4 separate regions of the Homo sapiens genome follow, and all the other regions are linked to region 3. The links are contacts of gene promoters, found by promoter capture Hi-C in blood cells and fetal thymus (Javierre and others, 2016). All regions are on one chromosome and are shown on one strand. Each heading gives the region's core, a stretch centred on a gene start or on the middle of the fragment in contact. The rest is flanking DNA. Distances are from core to core; before and after follow the strand shown.

Region 1 (3,839 bases), core at 1,015-3,514, 260 kb before region 3:
TCTCCCCTGTGAGTGACTGAGTGGCAGAGGCGAGCAGGGTTGTAACTTCCAGGAACCCCCACTAAACTCCTTCTTCCTCCCCTACTCCATGCCACTCCCTGTCCTGTGTTCTCCAAGGGCTGCTGAAACATTGTCCCCAAGCAGGAGTTTCCACCTGATTTATCCCAAAAGAAAACTGTTACCTTGCATCACGAAGAAGCATGGTTTGTGATGAATAACTTGCCTTGGGTTCTATTGGAAAAAAGAATAAAAAAGCAATATTGGCAAAAAAGCATCTTTCTTTCTATTTAAAAATACGTTGTTAAGTACGTGGAGAGGGCCCTAGTTATAGAAATTTTCTATTTTTACTTTTCTTTAGTATTGTCTCTTAATGGTTTCCTTTAAAAATTACTGGGTTGAAATTTTATAAAATTAGTGAGAACTCAAGAAGATACTTTTCAGGCAATCATGGATTTTGGAAATTCGAGTTTGCTTTGCTTATCTCTATGGTTATCCCAGAAGCCTACTTCTGTATTGGGATGAAGGACATCGGTCCAGCAGAGGTGACTGAGGTGCAGGGGATATATGTATTTTAAGGATTATTTTTAATTTTAAAGGACCTGCTTGTGTCACGTAATCACCTGATTGTTTGCCTTGAATGATATGGCATAAAGAATTTCTTGTAGACTTGGGATAAATTATGCCAACAATTCTGATAATACAAAATGGCAACAGGGGAAGCAGTAGAGAAACGAGAACCAGAACATTTGAATTGGAAAGGGAAATGTGAACACTTCCACTTATCCGTAGCTTACCCATGCAAGAAAATATTATTGAGGAACATCCCTTGGCTATTAAAATGATGTCTCGGCTGGGTGAGGTGGCTCATGCCTGTAATCCCAGCACTGTGGGAGGCTGAGGCGGGCGGATCACAAGGTCAGGAGATCGAGACCATCCTGGCTAATGTGGTGAAACGCTGTCTCTACTAAAAATACAAAAAATTAGCTGGATGTAGTGGCAGGCGCCTGTAGTCCCAGCTACTCGGGAGGCTGAGTCAGGAGAATGGCGTGAACCCAGGAGGCGGAGCTTGCACTGAGCCAAGATGGCACCACTGCACTCCAGCCTGGGCGACAGAGCAAGACTCCATCTCAAAAACATAAAATAAATAAAAATAAAATGATGTCTCTAAAAATTAAGCAACATGGGCAAATGGTGAAGTTATAATACTAAGTTACAAAAGTAAAGTACTAACTTGTATAGACAGCATGTTTAAAACAGTAAAAACCAAACCACACAACAAGGACCATCACTACCAAAAATGCAAACAATGGCGGCAGAGAGACAGAATACAAATCACTTATGTGTGAATTAGCTTTATTTATATTTGAATGTTCGTGGGTTGGGGGATGTCTTTCTACTTTTTACTGTTCAAATTTTTCATTTTTTAAAAAAAGGAACAAGAAGATATTCGTTTTTTGATGTCACTTTTCTAAAATTAAAATAGGTGCACAACTTATTAAAAAGCAGAAACAAAGCATGAAAGGAGGAAGGAAGGGAGGAAAGGAGGAGAAGCGACTAGAAGAGGAGAGAAAGTTTGGGAGCCTGTCCTGGCCCTTCTAATGATTTTCTGTGACTTTGGAGTAGTCACATGCCCTCTTTCTAGCTCCAAGTTGCTCATCTGTGAAATGGGCAGGAAGAGATAATGGTTGGGACAATTAAAGGAGATACAGATTGTGAAATAGACAATATGTACCCTATGCCATCAGACTATGTTCCCTAACTTTCGCTGGGACAAGACACGTGCAGAAAATGATTCTGTTCTTTTGGGAGCACATTGGAGGCAGAAGAAACCAGCTCTGGGGCTCAGCGTTCCCCCACCCACCAGTGGCTGACTCAAGGTCACAGAGGTGAACTTCCTTTCATGAAAAGTTGGCTGGCTTTCTCATCTCTGCCTTGTTAGTATCTCTTGCACCTTTCTTCTGAAATTTCCAGAATTGCTAGGTTCCCTGTTGGAAATGGTAGTTGGGACACCAACTCTCAACTGGAAATGGCAACTGAATTACAGCATTTAGGCCAGACGGCATTTGGAGCTGCCGAGGAGGATCTAGCAGGGTAAAGAAAATAAAATTCGATGCACTATGTATATCAAAAGATTAGGCAAAAACATGATGAATCAAAATCAATGTATTGTGACATCTCTATAGCATTATTTGCCACAGGGCAGAATTTATCATTAGGAATGTCTTGGGTACTAAAAAAACTAAAAGGGGGTCTCATTATGGGGTGGTTTCACTCTACAGCATGTTCTGTGGCAGCAGGAGAGCAATGTAGCCTGGAGGCTCCTCTACTGCCTTTCTTCTTGTAAGATTAGAAGAGTATTTTATACCTTACAATTGTGTGGTACAGGGGAGTTTCAAAGCAGTTTCAGGTATGTTACTTCATTTACTTATTACAACCCACTGTGAGAAAGGTGTTTTTGCACATGGGGAAACTGAAACCTAGAGATGGTAAGTGACATGCCCAAGGTCTAGACTCCACCGTGTGCTGGGTTTTCTGACTTGGACACCACAGCACTCACACCCATGTTGTGCATCCAAAATCTGAACTCCCCCAGCAGGCCAGTCAGATGCGACCAACCAATTATTCACTGGCAATTGATGCTGCATTTATATTCAAGTTGCTCACCCAATTTTACTGGATTTCCCCATAAACTTTGGGGGGAATCAACCCTTTAAGGAAGAGAGGTGGGTGGGGGTTGTTAGTCTGATGTAACCTGATTTGTCCAGGGCTATGGGAATCTCTGAAGTTGACCGCTATAGGGTAGATGAGTGGAGGGTGCAGATCCCTCCCACAGCCTGTTTCATTGTGTCTCATCTTTTGGTTATGTCCATTTCACAAAGCAGGTAATGTGGCTAGGGGTGTGTGGCCAGGCACAAGTCAATGGCAAGGGAATAATAATACATCATGTAATATAATAATACTTATAATGGCTAACACTTGCTTAGGCCTAAAATGCTATGTGTCTGGCATATTTCTTAATGATTTACCCAATTAAATCCCTTTAATCCTCCCACACATCCTATGAGGTAGGTCTAATGCTGTTCCTATTTACAATGAAGACAACCAAGACATGGAGAGGTTAAGTCACTTGCCCAAGCTCATGCAACTAGTGAAAGGGAGAGAGCTGGCATTCAAACCTAGGCAGTCAAGCTCCTGAGAGAAAGGAAAATGTGCTCTTCATGACAGACTCCTACCTGCTATTAAGTAGATAAATAAATGACACTCAGGCACCCCCTTCACTCTCTGCTCCTGTGGCAGACATCACTAGTTGCTCACAGCACTCTTTGCTGCTGAGCCCAGACAATCCCTCAAAATTCTTCTCAACATAGTTTTCCACTACTAACCTCAAGTAGTTAATGCATCAGCATGAGAGATAAGCCCATTTGTCATATCTAGGGCTCATTTTATAGATGCCAATTAATGGATAAGGTTAAAAAAATTTGTGTGCACCCATGTATATGTGAGTGTGACTGGCTCTAGTTAGTGAATATGATCACTTGATTCAATTTACATGTACTGAGCATCTGCTATAGGTGAGGAAGGCACTCTTGTTAGTCACTGAGGTTCAACACGAGGGTAAACAAAGTTATATCTTAAGGGTATTAGGAGACTATTCTACATAAAAACATTGATATATTTTTTTGAAAAGTTAAGAAATTTCTTATACATTTTTTCTTAACCTGTTTTGTACAATCTATCTTGAAACCCTAGAATTTCATAGACCAAGACATTCTTTCATGAGCCTTGAAAGGCATTTCAGCATCTCCCTAGTGTTTTTTCAGTGCCTCTCCAATTTTTGT
Region 2 (3,608 bases), core at 449-2,948, 270 kb after region 3:
ATGTATATTGTATGGCTCCATCTATATGGCACCCTACAAAAGGCAAAACTACAGAGACAGAAAGTAGGTTGGTTTTTGCCAGAGGGTAGAGCTGGTGAAAGAGGATTAACCTTTGAAAAGGTACAGCAGAATTGTTTTGGAGTGGTGGAAGTATTCTATATTTTGATTGTGGTGGTAGGTACACAACTGTATCCTGCTAAAATTCCTCAGATTTAACACTTAAAAGTTGAATTTTATTGTATGTACAAATAGAGAATGGAAGAACAAAAGAATGAGGAAAGGAAGCAAGAAAGGAAGGAAGAAAGGGTGGGAGGGAGGAAGAACGGAAGGGAGGGAAAGACAAATTTCTTCTCATTCTTTATCCCTCTTTGAGATGCCTCTCTGTGGATCCTGTCACCTCTACTGGGGAGCAAAAAGAACACAGAAGTTGGAGCCGACGGATCCCATGCCTAGCTGGGTAATTAGGCAAATCTCAGCCTCTGGAAATGCAGCTTCTTCTGTAACCTACCTCAGAGGGCTGTTGTGAGGATTGAATGGGGTAACATTTAAACTAACTGGCAAAAGCAGGTTCTCAATATATTAAAATTCACATGAAAAAGATAAACCAGGAAGGGAGTTGGCAGGAAGCCAGGAAGCCTCCTGTGTTCTCTGCAGGAGGCTTATCTAGTTCATCAGGATCTTGGGAACAGCTAGTCTTCCTCTGCTGCATTCTGAGAGTTAGGTGATGAGTCACCACCTCAAGAGGCCATCTAGTTCTGGCCGATCTATCTGACTGGATCGTGGACCCTAGGACCCAGCTAACTTGTTCTCCAGCCAATTTAGAAGAATGAGTAGCAAAAATAATATGGCAAGTATTTCTTGAAGTGCCCTAACCCTCTGTCCTTATTAGTGTACCCTGTCAGGAGTGGCCTGCCTTGACTTTCTGTCAAACTGGAGCAGCCTGAGACTAAGGGCAAATGCCCTCTTGGCCTTGGCCGGCCACAACTTGGATATGCAGGTCAGGCTTATTGTTAGGGAAGCTCTGAGACTCAATTAATCTGATGCCTTTTTATTATGAGTTCAGGTGCAGCTCCATTTACAAGTTTTTCTTTCAAAATCATTCAGCCATTAAAGCTGCATAATCTTGGAAGGTTTTGAAGACGCATGATTGGTAAATGTTTTTCCCCTTCACACATTATCTCTCATGTTTATTCATGAAAAGTGAACCAGTCTTATAATTTAAACAGTGTCTTGGGGTATCTGGCCTCCTGTATTTCTAAGGGGGAGGAAAGATGAGGCTAGCCCAGAAGCCATTTAAAAAGGGGATTTGAGGCCTGAACGCAGAGAACTCAATCCCAGGTACTAATGACCTTGCTTTGGCTTGCAAGACTAAGCCTGAGGCCTGTGGCACTTAAGAGGGTTACTGGGTACCCAGACAGGCAAATGCCTGTTGATTGGATGGCTAAATTGTGAAGAAAGCAAAGCTTACCTGTGCAATGTGTCCATGCCTTCATTCCTACTTTCTGAATCAACAGTGCCTGTTATTGTTCTGCCCAACTGTTAAGATGTTCCACCTGTGCCTGCTCTTTGGCGCAGTACTCCAGGCTATAGATCAACATTTCTCAAACCTGGCTGCACATTAGAGTCATCTGGGGATCTTTTAAAAACCCAGCTGCCTTGGCTGCACATCTGATCATTACGTCAGACTCTTGTAGGGAGGAGTATAGACATCAGCATTGATTAAAACTCCTGAGATAATTCCAATGTGCAGTCAGGATTGAGAACAGCTGGTCTACACCAGTTCCTCTTGAAGTATGGTCTGTAAGTCACAGGCTGCAGAATCTCCTTGGATGTTTGTGGGAAATGCAGATTGCTAGGTTCACCAGCCCTATAGGCACTGAGTCTCAAGGTGAGATCTGGAAAATGTGTTTTAATAAGCTCCCCAGGTGATTCCTAAGCTTTTTGCAAGTACCGCTGCTTCTTATGATATGGCCGTTCTTGCTTCCCATCAGTTATCCTTGTCTTTCAGTTCCTCAAAGATATCAAGTTTCATTCATCCTCAGGACCACTGCATATGATAGTCGCTCTACTTGGAAGACATTTTCCTCTTTCTCCTTGTTATTAGGCATTTGGCAGACTTAACAATGAGGCTATTGTAACCCCAGAAAGTCATTGCAAAGTGCCTGCTTAGGGGGTTAAGAGTAGACACTGCAGGGCCTTGGAATAGTAATGGTTTACTATTTAATGAGTTCCCTGTCACTGGAAGTCATAGAGAGATTGCTCCAGGCATGGTGGGAGAAAAGCCAGTTTGACAGGCGGTGGAGGGATAAGAGGGAAGACTTGAGTGACGTGGCACAAACTGGGTCAGATCTATTAAAGAGGCAGCCCTGGGCAGCTGGCAAGAGATCATGTCAAGAGACACAATGCAGGTGCCAGCAGGACCAGAAGATCAGCTTCTTAGAGCGAGTGCCACCTGGAAGGGGGAAACCAAGGGAAGGGGCACAGCAAAGGGCAAAGCTGGGTGGTGGAGGAAGTACCCAAACAGAGGGAAGAGCCACTCTGGCCACATCAAGTGAATACTGATGATCGGGAAACATTCATGGGAAGTTATTTCACTCTCTCGAGTCCAGTGTAAGTGAGAAAGTGTAATTTAATTTAAAAGAGCCTAATTTAGCCTTCCATCAACTGTAGATCTTTTAACGAGACCTTTATTCTTCTAGGACAGCATTTCTCAAACTTTAATGTGCGTAGGAATCTTATTAAAATGCAGATTCTGATTCAGTACGTCTGGGGTAAGGGCTGAGATTCAGCACTTCTAACCGGCTCCTAGATGCCCCCGGTCTGAGCACTACACTTAGAGCAAGCAGGTTTGAACATTGCGACTTATAACAGTGGACCCATGGTGTAGACAAGTCCAGAAATGACTGCTGAATCAACAGTTTTTATGTTAGCTTCCGTATACCTTCAGAATTCAGTGTTTGTGTGCATTCTAATTCTCTAAATGATGTATATTAGATTTCCATTAACGAAAATATATGTTTAAGTGGAACTCTCCAATTCCAACTTGCCAAATAAAATAAAAAATTCCTGTCATTTTACTGACCTGTCTCTGAGTTGTTAATGGTGACATGCTGGGCAATGACTAGGTTACCTGTTTTTGTCCCTGGCCTGATGTGGGTTATTAAATATATGTAGATGTTAGGCATGAGAAAACATTTACGCAGTTTTCTTTTTGTCACTCATTCACAGGCTCAGTTGGTAAACTGTCTTTCAGAAATAGGGAGAAAGCATACTGAGTAAGAGCCCTCTTTGACAGCTTAAAATTTAATTACAGGAATTTTATTAGGAAACTGTCAAAGTGACTAGATTGCATAAGAGGATCGGTCAATGCCTCTAACTTGTTCTGAGCATCAGCTCTGCTTTCTGGATCATGAAATTGGCAGGAACGTACTGGGCAAAACAATGCCAAGTTCACGAAGATAGCACTGCTGGCGTTTACTGCAAGCCCATCTGCACACTGGGTGGAACAAAGAACAGAGGTCAGTGACGACAGGCATAGTAAATGTAAGGAAGGTGGGCCCAGGGCTCATCCCAAGGACTGAGAGCACATGGAAATGTCCCGTGCCTTA
Region 3 (3,327 bases), core at 635-3,134:
TTTCTTGCCCCAGGGAACTAACTAATCCAAAGTGGAAAAAATAATGGAAGTTTGAATGCAGTCTCAAAAGTGGCCATAAAATGGAATTCAGAATTTTATTTTAATGTGCATACTACATACTTGCTTTGCCAAGGATGACTGGTAGTAAATTCTCATTTATAAAACTAAGCTATAAAAGAAAAAAAGAAATAGTGGAATGAGAGGCAAGAGCGCGCAAGCAAGAGCAGGTGTGAACGGTTGCATGCGATGGCATTCGTCACAGCTGGGATATCAGAGAGAGTCAGATCCTAGGTCAGATGCACCATAGGGGTCCCAGGATAGTCCATCGCCCCTCCCCCAGGACTGGCCTTGGCATGTAACCCCAGCAGCTCCAGGCAGCTGTCTTTCGGCGGAACTTCTAGGAGTGGGGGCACCCATCAGCGCTGACCTGCGGGGCTCCAGCTGAGGACAGTCCGGCCGTGGGAGTTTATAAAGTAATGGACAACAGGCAATGCTCTTCCTGCCCAACAGCAGTGGTCAGAGGGACAGATCTATCCTCACAGAGACTGTCAGGCACTGTCGCTACAGACACGGCCCCTCCCCCGGCACTCAGTCCTGCCTGCCTTACACAGGAGTACAGGAAAGGAACTTCCAATGAGTCCATCTTTTATGTTAGGAGAGAGGCAAGGTGCTGAGTTTCCCATCCGGGGAGTTCAGCTGCACCCTCTCCCCAGCCCCCACCTCCCTGACTTCCCCTCCTCCCTACTACCCCTAACCAGTGGCCCATCATTCCTTTCCCAGTCAGTCTTGGCTGTGATGTTAAGCGGCTCTGCCGGACCCCATATTTTGTCTGGTCTCTAAAAGGGCACTGACCTGAGGGTACAAATGCAGAGGCCCCGGGGCAGCTAGGCAGCCGCGAGCAACCCAGCACCCAGCTGCCTAGGGTGCTCCAGGCAGCGGCGGCAGCAGCTAGAAGCTGGTGTCATTATTACACAAGCCAGGCAAATCCTGCTCCAGTACACAGAGCGCATCTAACCAGCAGGAAGGAAATAAGCCAAAATCCTCCCGACACCACACACACACACACACACACACACACACACACACACACACACACGAGTCTGAGGACAAGGACAAACACTTTGCAGAAAGAACCCTCCCCCCACCCCACCGACGTCCAAGTCCCTGTTTCAGGATTCCTCACCCCCCAGTAGCTTCTAAAATCCTCGTGTTTGACCACCTCTCCCAACACATGGGACAGAGAGAATTTGGCTAACTTCAAATCCTGTCTCCTGAGCACTTGCCCACAAATAGTAGGGGGAGTGATGGGGACGCCCCCCTGTTCCCTCCACCACCCTCACTTCTGCCCCCCACGCCACTCTCAGGTTGACAGCGTCGGGGAAAGACATCAGACCATCAATCCAGCTTTTCCTGCCAGCTGGGGAAACAACACTCGGTCACTAACAGCACCCAATCACCTAGAGAGCGAGAGTGAGCCGAGGCAAACACGCCGGGTTCCAGACACCGTCCCAGCCCCCGAGACCCGGGTTTGCAAAGGGCTGCACACGTTCGCCGGAGGGTCGCTGCCGCCTCCGAGAAAGGACTTGAACCTGAGCCCGGTGAAGGTAAAATGACACAGAGACTCACCTTTAGGTTGTGTGTGGGGTTGACGACACAGACAAGTTGCCCGGCAGCGGAGAAAACCCGTTTAGCCTTGTAGTGCTGAAACCGGAGATGAATGAGATCTAATACAGCCCCAAAGCACTGGGTAAAGAAAAGCATCACAACTTTTGGGGGGTTGTTGGTCCGGGAAGGCAGCGGAGGAAGCTGTGAGTCCTTGGGCCCTGGAAGGAGCGCAGCCTCTGAGACACTCCGCTCCAGCCCGGCTTAGCGCGCCTTCATATTCATCATCAAAATAAGACGGTTAGAATCTTGCAGCAGTGAGGCGGCCAATCAAAAGGACAGAAATGTTATCCTTGAGGTGCAGAGACAGCCAATAACAAATGCCTTCCCTACCGAAACTCCCTGATGAATTGAGCCTGGCGGAGAATGTATTATTGAACATTACCATAGATCAGCACATTGCATTTATCTTGTGATTACAGCCAACCATACCTAATGCTGGGGAGATAGGCTGACAAAATTGATTGCTTAATGTGTCTCCATTTATTAATTGACTTAATTTAACATGAGAGCCTTTCTTAATGCCCTGGCAAGAACGTAAAGCGTTTAAGCCGCCAAATAGTACAACACCCCGCTCCAAAGTAGGCAGATGGATAACGCAGATCATGGCTCGACTCACCAGAGCTGCTTGGGAGAAAATAAAATATTACTAGACTCTGAATCCAGATAAGGACTTGGCAGCAGCAAAAATGTGTATCTTTCAATCTTGCGTTCTGACTTTCTGCAATTTGGATTACAGCCCCTTGATAAATCTTACTCTCCACTCTTTATCAAAGAAAAGAATCCCTGACAAATTCATTTGGAGTTGAGGGGTGGAGGGAAGCACATACATATATATTACTATACATATATATATATTTTCTTTTTTTCAAAATACTGTGATTACTGAAGTCTGAAAGTATTAAAGGATAAAAATGCACAGAGTATGCTTCAAAAAATAATGAAATCCCTGATGCATGAATGCACACACACAGAAAAACCTACACTGAGAGGAAAGAGGCTTGTAAATCAGCAAAATAATTACAGATGCAGAGAACCTTTGCTTGTCATTCATTTGCATATTGGTGGGCAGCAAATTGCTAATTAACCACTAGATTGCTGGAGACATTAAAATAGAGATTAAGGATGCACATACCACATCATTTACTTGTTTCTGCAAATGCTAGCAGCACATTTCTGTGCTGGCACAGGCAGAGGGCATTCCAGTCCTCAGACTGCAAACCTGTCCTTGCTCCCCAGAACAGGGCTGGTGGGTGGGCGGGAGGCCGCTGGTTCTTGAAGAAAGATTCCTAAGCAGTACTTGAAGGGTTTTGGGTTTTTCGGGACTAGCTCTGATGGTTTAGTCTTTGCAGCTAAAGCAGGGGAGTTCAGTGTATTGTGTTTTCCCTCTTCCCTGGTTGTTTCTCTCTTGAGAAGTCAGGCCAGATCCAGTGCTGCCTGGAGCAGGATCAGCCCCCACTGTGAATTGTACCCTGTGAGTGTGAGCCCCCTCCCTCATGGCTCTTGTTCTGCTCTGGCTACAATGCTTGGGTTGTAATGTATGCAAAACATATGCACACGTGGAACACCTAGGTCTGTGACCTGGTCAGGCAGTTAAACTAACAACAGAATAACATACGGGATAAAAATAATGCACAAGTTTATTGATGCCAGGACAGAGCCCAG
Region 4 (3,309 bases), core at 611-3,110, 290 kb after region 3:
CTTCAAGGGTTTTATCTGCAAGTTTATGCATATGCTGTTTGCCAACTGTCCACCCTGAGAATGATTTCCAAGCTACTGAAGGGGATAGGGAAGTTTAAGTACATATCTCTCATTTGCTCTCATAGGAAAAAATGACAAGCCATTTATTGTCCAGATAAATGACCAAATTAGCACATCAGCACAATTCAATGAAATAAATTCCAGCTAGAACCAGCTGTAAATTTAATAGATCTTTTAATATATAGCATGCAGGGAAAAAAATCCCTTCCGGTGCCATTTATATAATTATCAGTCATTACTTCTCCTTCTACAGTAATATATTTTTCTGTCTACTTTCTTAAATGCACGATTCTTATGTAGTAAACACTCATGAGAAATATGACTTTTTAACCAGGTGGAGACAGCAACAGCAGAGTGGACCTTGTTGTGTATGTGCCAGCCATTAAATAGGGCTTTGAGCCACATTTTTATAAAACATCCAAAGATCATATTGCAAGACGTTTTTCAGATATTATGAAATTTAACATAGAATGGGGTTGACCTGAGTTTGTTTGTTTGTTTTTTTCTGAGACAGAGTCTCGCTCCGTCACCCAGGCTGGAGTGCAGTGGCATGATCTTGGCTCACTGCAACCTCTGCCTCCCAGGTTCAAGAGATTCTTCTGCCTCAGCCTCCTGAGTACCTGGGACTACAGGCACGCACCAGCATACCTGGCTAATTTTTGTATTTTTAGTAGAGATGGGGTTTCACCATGCTGGCCAGGCTGGTCTCAAACTCCCGACCTCAGGTGATCCACCCGCCTCGGCCTCCCAAAGTACTGGGATTACAGTATGAGCCACCGCACCCGCTGGCTTGAGCTTTTTAATCATTAAAATAGCATATATTAAAGATTATTTAATATTGAAACCCATGAGTCAGTTTAACTGTTGCAACTAAAAGGACTTTTGCTTTGGTTTTTAAAGCAATCAGTATGAATTGCTAATCTGTTAAAAATTTAAAACTTGTGGAAGATAATAAAGATAGCTTGGAAATATCATCTGGAAATACACTGGTGAGAACAGCCCTGAGGAGTTTTCAATGATGTTCTGGATACATGCAGTAAACTAAAAGACAGAGTTGGAGTTTCTTTAGTTCTGGAGTTTTCTGCACCAGGGGAGCCTTATGACATCTGCCCCCATCATTAAAGAGACCCCAGTGTGGAAATGGGTAATGGAGCTCTATACTTAGTAAAGCAAATGTGAATCAGGGAGTGAAATCTTTTATGATCACTTCTGATTATCCTACCTTATCTGGAAATACTGACACGATTACATCCAGAGCCGGCCATTATTAGGATCTGCAGACAGTGGCTTGGAACTAAAGCTGCAGTGCCTAGGCACACCACGAACCTTGTCTTTGCCATTATCTTTCCAGACAGAATGTAATGTGACATGCAGTTTCTGGGGCTTCCTTCCAGGTAGGAAAATGAATTGAGTCACACTAACATAGGATCTAATGAGGGGATGTAAGATTCTTGCCTTGTCAGAGCTATTAGTATAGGGGGAAAGACTGAAGCATTTACAAGTAAATTATTTTATTACTTACAGAATTCCTATCTAAAAGTCTTCCCAAGCTTATGATTTTGTACCAAAATTGTTTCTTTTTCTTATAATTTATTTTCTATTTGTGTATCTTTTTATAACCTATTTTTGTTTAACTAATATCACCCTATACTTCTCACATTAGTCAAGTTTATATTCAGTTCCAAAACATATCTAAAGTTTTGTATGAAAGGAACTTCTGTTTCTGGCCATGATGGAATAACAGGGCCCACATTTAAACACTTATAATACAGTGAAAAACATATGAAACAATGTTGTTCAGACATCAGACAATAGGAAGCACAGGACAGTGGCCCCTGAAAAGAAGAAAACAAAGTTAGCCTTAAGATTTTTCCAGCATGGAAAAAGTTTCCAAGCTGCAGCATAGGAGGAGAAAACCCAAACAGCTGGCCATCCTCTTGAGTGGAGGAAACAGGGATGAGAAATGAAGGAAGCCCAGGTGCCTAGAATTTAGGGGAAAGACTATCAGAGTGGTGAGAACTGTATAGAGAGAAGAGAGTCATTCAGAAAGAAAGCTTCAGCGGCCTTCAGAGGGTTTCCCTCAGTCTTCAGCTGAGGACCACTCAGTGCACATGTGTGAGGAAACTACTAGAGGCTGTGGGGAAAAACCCACCAGAAATGAGCCACGAGAGCAATCCTTGGGGCTCACACAAGGCTGGAAAAATTTGTTCCCACCAGCTGGAGTGGAAAAATTTCATAATACATGAGCATCAAGCAAAGTACTCAGAAGACCATTTTCTCATTACTAACAAGCAAAATGAGCTCTAGATTAATTAAGCTTAAAAGTAAGCCTCAAATGGATCAAACTGTATTTAAGTTACTTAAGTCTATCCCAGGATTAAATTTAAGAATATTTAAAGGAATACAGAAATATCCAGTACACAGCAAGGTCAAATTCATGATATTTGACATATAATTAAAAAATTAGCAGCATGCAAAGAAGCCAAAAAATATGACTCATAATGAAGATAAAAATAAATTAGTAGAAACAGATCCCAAAATAAGTTACTGTAATTATTTTCTGTATGTTCAAGAAGGTAAAGGAAAGGACAGCTATGGGAAATATAAAAATGACTCAAAATTTCTATACATGGAAACTATAATGTCCAGGTTAAAAAACATGTACACTGGATGGAGTTAATGGAATATTAGACATGCAAAATAAAAGAGATTAGTGAACTTGAAAACACAGCAATACAAGTTATACAAAATGAAACATAGAGAAAATAAATCACTAAAGCATCGGTGAGCTTAGGGACAACTTTGAACGATCAAATATACATGGACTTGGAATCCCCCAGAACCAGGGCTGGTGGGTATGGAAGATATGTTTGAAGAGATGAAAGTTAAGTTTTCCAAATTTGATGGAAAGTATAAACCCATAGATTCTATAAGTTCAACAAACCTCAAGCATAAGAAACAACAATGGAGCTGGGCATGGTGGCTCATGCCTGTAATCCCAGCAGTTTGGGAGGCTGAGGCACTCGGATCATTAGGTCAGGAGTTTGAGACCAGCCTGTCCAACACGGTGAAACCCCGTCTCTACTAAAAATACAAAAATTAGCTGGGCATGGTGGCGTGGACCTGTAGTCCCAGCTACTCAGGAGGCTGAGGCAGGAGAATCACTTGGACCCAGGAGGTGGAGATTGCAGTGAGCCAAGATCACACTACTGCACTCCAGTCTGGGCGACAGAGCAAGACTCTGTCTCA

The links. Contacts are between HindIII fragments. The CHiCAGO score rates a contact against its expected background, and 5 or more counts as called.
Region 1: a fragment that was not itself captured here is called in contact with the fragment with the promoter of SIAH3 in region 3 in 1 of 17 cell types (M1 macrophages); the score reaches 5.0 in M1 macrophages.
Region 2: a contact is called between a fragment that was not itself captured here and the fragment with the promoter of SIAH3 in region 3, in 1 of 17 cell types (endothelial precursors). The highest score is 5.2, in endothelial precursors.
Region 4: a fragment that was not itself captured here is called in contact with the fragment with the promoter of SIAH3 in region 3 in 1 of 17 cell types (endothelial precursors); the score reaches 5.4 in endothelial precursors.

The regions. Positions count from the first base shown.
Region 1 is chr13:45,590,467-45,594,305 of GRCh38, forward strand. It overlaps ERICH6B (glutamate rich 6B), which reads right to left. Exons shown (of 15, transcript NM_182542.3): 4 at 183-231. Among named protein-coding and RNA genes, the nearest start is that of ERICH6B, 23 kb to the right of the region's middle. RefSeq lists a silencer at 2,472-2,531. The HindIII fragment of the contact is 5,237 bases long and covers 1-3,839 here.
Region 2 is chr13:46,119,624-46,123,231 of GRCh38, forward strand. No RefSeq gene overlaps it. Among named protein-coding and RNA genes, the nearest start is that of CPB2, 16 kb to the left of the region's middle. The HindIII fragment of the contact is 474 bases long and covers 1,462-1,935 here.
Region 3 is chr13:45,849,869-45,853,195 of GRCh38, forward strand. SIAH3 (siah E3 ubiquitin protein ligase family member 3) reads right to left here and starts at 1,885. Exons shown (of 2, transcript NM_198849.3): 1 at 1,627-1,885. The coding sequence starts at 1,761. RefSeq lists an enhancer at 457-994. The HindIII fragment of the contact is 4,746 bases long and covers 1-3,327 here.
Region 4 is chr13:46,138,098-46,141,406 of GRCh38, forward strand. The region is part of intron 13 of LCP1 (lymphocyte cytosolic protein 1); the gene reads right to left. Among named protein-coding and RNA genes, the nearest start is that of CPB2, 35 kb to the left of the region's middle. The HindIII fragment of the contact is 504 bases long and covers 1,609-2,112 here.